2 separate regions of the Homo sapiens genome follow, and region 1 is linked to region 2. Evidence: promoter capture Hi-C in human tissues and cell types (Jung and others, 2019). All regions are on one chromosome and are shown on one strand. Each heading gives the region's core, a stretch centred on a gene start or on the middle of the fragment in contact. The rest is flanking DNA. Distances are from core to core; before and after follow the strand shown. Region 1 overlaps LOC100506639 (a long non-coding RNA gene). Region 2 holds the start of PAIP1 (poly(A) binding protein interacting protein 1).

Region 1 (2,700 bases), core at 15-2,514, 470 kb after region 2:
ATTGCATTTCAGAAAAAACACTATAGTACACCTGTTATTAGACTCTAGCCCTGCCCATTGTTTTTGAGTTTTTGTTATTTGGCTACAATTTAGACCAAATACTAAATATTTTTGTCTCTACAAGTCTCTGAACTGATGTTTCCATTTTTCTTGGTTAGACTCACTAAAGATTAAAATTGTGCTTTTTCTTAAAGCCCTGCCAACTGAAGTTAGGCAATATAAACTTCAGGAAAAATCACCAGAGCAACTTACATATAACAGCTAGGAAGGGCAAATAAAAATACTAGGACCCCAAATTCCCTAAGTTGAAGGGAAAAGTCAAGCTTGGACCCAAGTCACATAAAATGGCCTCTTATTTTTTCCTCTAAATAGAGAGCTACAAAGACAAAAGGCTATATACCATCTTCAGTTTGCTCACAAGGAAATTTCTTGTGGACCTTGATATCTGTACCCTAAAATAGTTCTGTTGAATTTCACCCTAACAATGTAAATTAACAGCTTATCTTCATGGGTACTGGACAAAGGACAGAACTAAAGGACATCCCTCCACCCACCTGAACCTAAAATATACCCAATGTACCCCTGAACCTAAAATAAAAGTTCAAAAAATTGATTAGATTCAGATGTATCTTTGTCCACTCCTTTATTTTCAACTCTTTTTATCATTTTACTTTATGTCTTCAAAATAGCATAGAGTTTGAAGCTATAATTTCTTTCTCTCTTTTCTCTCTTTATTTTTCAAGAGATGAAGTATTACTCTGTCACGCATACTGGAGTGCAGTGGCATGATTATAACTCATTACAGCCTTTAACTCCTGAGCTCAACCAATCCTCCTGTCTCAGCCTCCTGAGTAGCTGGGACTACAGGTGTGTGACCCCATACCTTGTTGTAGTTTACTTAATCTATTAATGCAATTGTACTTATCTTTTCACAGGGTAGTTCAATACACTGAATGATTGTATAAGTGGGAAAAGTGGCATCCCCCTTGTCCAGTTTCTATAAGGTACAATTATACCTGAATAACTTTAGTTTCATGTCTCATCTTTTAGTTCTCACCACTAAACTAATGAATTATCTGGTTGTAGAGTTTGAGAGGGGATCTACACATGAAAAGTTTGGCCCCTCACATTCCACCCTCTTTTATTAAGCCAGCGCCTCCTGGAAAACTGTGCTATGCTTGCTTCTCCATGCCCCACATTTCATAGACACACAGCCTCACTTGAGGAAACTTGAGGTTGTGTAACTCTTCCTGAGGCTGGATAGATAAATGCAATTCTGCCGTCAAGAGGTCCATTTTTGGTGTTAGCATTAGGCCCATCTTCCAATTTAGTTTATTGTGTGTGATTTTCCTGTATCCCTTATTTCCAACCCTTCAATTCAAGATAACCATCCACAGTTGGTTATTTTATTACTAAATTGAATATTCTGTTGTTTACCTTTTTACATAGTTTTATTTTTATCAATATGTATCTACATATTGTGTGTTTTTGTTAATTTTATAAAATAAAACTGTGTTCTGTGAAGGGAAATTAAACTTTGGGACCCCAAACTCATTTAGCCAAAGGGAAAAGTTAAGCTGGGAACTGGGTCACACAAACCTGCCTCCCGCTTTTGATTCCTAAATAAGATGGCTACAAGATGAAAAGCTACATGCCTCTCCCATATTTTGCCCACAGGGAAATTCCTGGTGAGCTGTTAAAACTTCACCATGGCAATGCAAATTGATAGCTTATCTTTACATGTGCAGTCACCCTGCTCGCCAGACACAAATGCATATCTGATTGTTCCCTCTACCCCATTTTGTCTGTTATCTTATGTAAAATGCAGATTCCCCATATTTTTCCTCTGCCCCTTTGGTTTATGTGAAAACTGTGCGCTTCTCAATATCCTGCCCTTTCCCCTTTAAATTTGGAGCCCTCAAAATCATCATCAGAGAAAGGCATAGACCTGTCTCCCAGGCATGTCCTTAACTTTGGCAAATAAACCTCCTAAAATGATTGAGACTTATCTTGTCATTTTCCTCAATTGACAGTTCTATGTAGTCTTTTAAACTTTTTCTCTGAATATTATGTTGCTATAATGCAGCCATGATTTTGAGTAATGTTGTAGTTTATTCTGATTTTTGTAAAATATTCCGTTCTGTGAATATAATATGTTCCTTTCTATCCGCTCTCCTATTGTTGGAGTTTTAGTTCCTTCCTCCTCAGCAAATTTTTGTTACTGTGAACAGTACATATATGGACATTCTCTTCCATGTTTCCTTGTGTGCATGTGCAAGAATTTCCCTTGGATATAGACCTAAGAATGGAATCAGTGGCTTATGAGATATTCCTAAACTTGTTTACTCTATCTTTCCATTTTAACAGGAAAGTTCTTACTTCTGTCTTATTCTTTGTAGACTACCATTGAATAAAGGCCTCAATCAACCATCCATACCTACTGCAGATTCTTCTAGATGCTGATGTATGCGGAACCCAGAATTTCTATTCTTGGCACCCATATAAGTAAATTTTATTTGTTCTGCATTATGTTCTAGTTTTCTTGATATAGCACTTTAAAAAATCATTTTCATACAAATTCATATGGTTTCTGCAAATATAAATTAACTGTCTCTTGCAACTGTTTTGATATGTAAGCAATGACACCCAAATTCAGATTTCATTGTTGTCCCTTAGGGGTATCCTAGTATCTGACTCTAG
Region 2 (2,700 bases), core at 153-2,652:
TAAAGAAATCAATTTTTCCTTCCTTGTCGTTACTTATATTCATCTATCCTTTATTTGGCATTAATACTGTCAGGCCTGACAAAAACAACAATTTACATATTAATAAAATCTAGAATTGTGCTGTGCAACGCAGTAGCCACTAGCCACATGTGGCTCTTGAGCCCTTGAAATGTGCCAATCCCGACTAAGATGTGCCATAAGTGTAAAATATACACTGGATTTCAACTAGTATCTAAAAAACAGAGAAAATATTTAATATTTTAAATCGCATGTTAAAAAACCATTTTGAACATAATGGATTAAATAAATTTAAATTAATTTCACCTGGTTTTTGTTTTGTTTTGTTTTGTTTTTTGAGACAGAGTTTGGCTCTTGTTGCCCAGGCTGGAGTGCAACGGTACGATCTCGGCTCACTGCAACCTCTGCCTCCTGCGTTCAAGCGATTCTCCTGCCTCAGCCTCCAGAATAGCTAGGATTACAGGCATGTGCCACCACGCCCGGCTAACTTTGTATTTTTAGTAGAGACGGGGTTTCTCCATGTTGGTCTGGCTGGTCTCGAACTCCCGACCTCAGGTGATCCGCCCCCCTCGGCCTCCCAAAGTGCTGGGATTACAGGCGTGAGCCACTGCGCCTGGCCACACCTGTTTCTTTTCACTCATTTAATGTGGCTTCTCCAAAATGTAAAATTACATAAGTGGCTTGCATTTGTGGCTCGCATTATATTTTCATTGGACAGCACTGATGCAAGATGAAAAAGAGGGCAGAGTTACACTGAAAGGTAGCACATTTTCTTGAAATTTCTGGAGGGGAAGGTTAACGGGAAGAGAACGAAGCTTGTTAAACGTAGGTGTGACCTACTGTGGTAAACACCTAGGGTGAATTAAAGAGGGGACACATATTTTGATTCCGTTTCTACTCCCTTCCCCCGATGCTAACGGAGCAGGTGACAGTCTCCCAGGGACCACTCCTCAGCAGTCCGCGGGTCTCGGCCGGAGCCGAGTCATTGAACACACCTGTGCGCCAGCGAACCCTGGCGCAGGGTCCACGCCCCCTCCCCCCGTGTTTTTATTTCCCGGGCGTCAACTGTCGGTCTCGCACGTCTCTCCTGAGAACTACCGAGTAGGTCGGGCCTGCCTGTGGTAAGCGTCCCCCTCACCCCTCATCCCTCATCCCCCCCAGCCTGGCCCCGGAACCGAGATGCCCCTGCCCGAGCCTGGCTGCGGGCCGGCAGGTGGCCAAGACGCCACTCGGCGGGCGGCCTGCTGGGCCCGGCGGCCGGCCAGCCGCGAACTGGAGGATCCTCGCGGGCGCGTCCCGGGCCTCCGGGCCGCAGGGGGCCGCTGTGACCCGCCTGCGCCCCTGCCGCGCCGAAGGCGGGGAGCCGGGTTTTGGGGGAGAACTGGAAAGCCGAGGGTAGCCGAGCGGGGCGGGCGCTCTGGAGCGGCGGGTGCTCGGGCTGCCGTCCGCTCCGCCAGAAGCACCGAGCAGCCGAGCCGGGGCCCGCCGCCCTCCTCCTCCATGAGGCCCGAGTGAGGCGCGGCGGCTATAGCCGACCCGCGGCGCCTTCCCCCCGCGTCCTATCGCGAGCGCAGCGGCAGCGGCCCCTGGAGGAGGAGGCGGAGGAGGAGGAGCATGTCGGACGGTTTCGATCGGGCCCCAGGTGCTGGTCGGGGCCGGAGCCGGGGCCTGGGCCGCGGAGGGGGCGGGCCTGAGGGCGGCGGTTTCCCGAACGGAGCGGGGCCTGCTGAGCGGGCGCGGCACCAGCCGCCGCAACCCAAAGCCCCGGGCTTCCTGCAGCCACCGCCGCTGCGCCAGCCCAGGACGACCCCGCCGCCAGGGGCCCAGTGCGAGGTCCCCGCCAGCCCCCAGCGGCCTTCCCGGCCCGGGGCGCTCCCAGGTACGGAGCAGCTCTAAGGGCCCCAGTCCTCCTTGGCGAACGCTTCCCCACGGCCCTCCACGCGTGCCGAGGCCCGACGCGCTGTCTGCGGTCCCCACCCCCGGTTCCCCGAAAGCATTCCCCGAGAGGGCCGCGTGACCGGGTAGGGACGGGCCCGGAACCGGGTTTGGAAGGTGTCTGCTGGAATCCTTTGTGCGCCTGGCTGGGGGGAGGGGCCGGGTGCGCGGTCTCGGAGTTCGGGGTCCCGGGAGGAAGTAAAAATCGCCTCCCCTCAGCAGCCCTCTAAAGCGAGACCCTAGCGAGTAACCACCTCTTTTCCACCGACCCCTTTAAAACGACAGAGAGGAAAAAAGCTCGCAAGCACTCATTTGAGAGGCAGGTATGCCCATAACGGAGTCACAGCAAGTCTATTGTTCCTTTTTGTAGGCTGTCTGTACACATTCCGGCGATAACCATAAATTTCATGATGGTTCCTGTTTAACTCTTAAAAACAGACGCTTTTCAGATGGTTTTTCAGTATATAGCAAGTTGCTGTACAAAGGAAAGAATGCATCTGACGCCCCGTTTTTTTTTCTTTTGCAGAGCAAACGAGGCCCCTGAGAGCTCCACCTAGTTCACAGGATAAAATCCCACAGCAGAACTCGGAGTCAGCAATGGCTAAGCCCCAGGTGGTTGTAGCTCCTGTATTAATGTCTAAGCTGTCTGTGAATGCCCCTGAATTTTACCCTTCAGGTTATTCTTCCAGTTACACAGTAAGTACACCCTTTTTCCTACAACTCTGGGTTAATTTACTGGAATAATGT

Evidence for each region. The method cuts DNA at HindIII sites, captures the fragments that hold promoters and counts their contacts. A contact is called where the count stands out against the background at its distance.
Region 1: a contact is called between a fragment that was not itself captured here and the fragment with the promoter of PAIP1 in region 2, in 1 of the 25 tissues and cell types used here (lymphoblastoid cells).

Annotation. Positions count from the first base shown.
Region 1 is chr5:43,080,667-43,083,366 of GRCh38, reverse strand. All of the region lies in intron 2 of LOC100506639 (a long non-coding RNA gene), which reads right to left. Among named protein-coding and RNA genes, the nearest start is that of ANXA2R-OT1, 15 kb to the right of the region's middle. The HindIII fragment of the contact is 3,027 bases long and covers 1-2,700 here.
Region 2 is chr5:43,555,779-43,558,478 of GRCh38, reverse strand. PAIP1 (poly(A) binding protein interacting protein 1) reads left to right here and starts at 1,402. Exons shown (of 11, transcript NM_006451.5): 1 at 1,402-1,897; 2 at 2,480-2,649. The coding sequence starts at 1,633. RefSeq lists a silencer at 1,107-1,966. The HindIII fragment of the contact is 2,914 bases long and covers 1-1,845 here.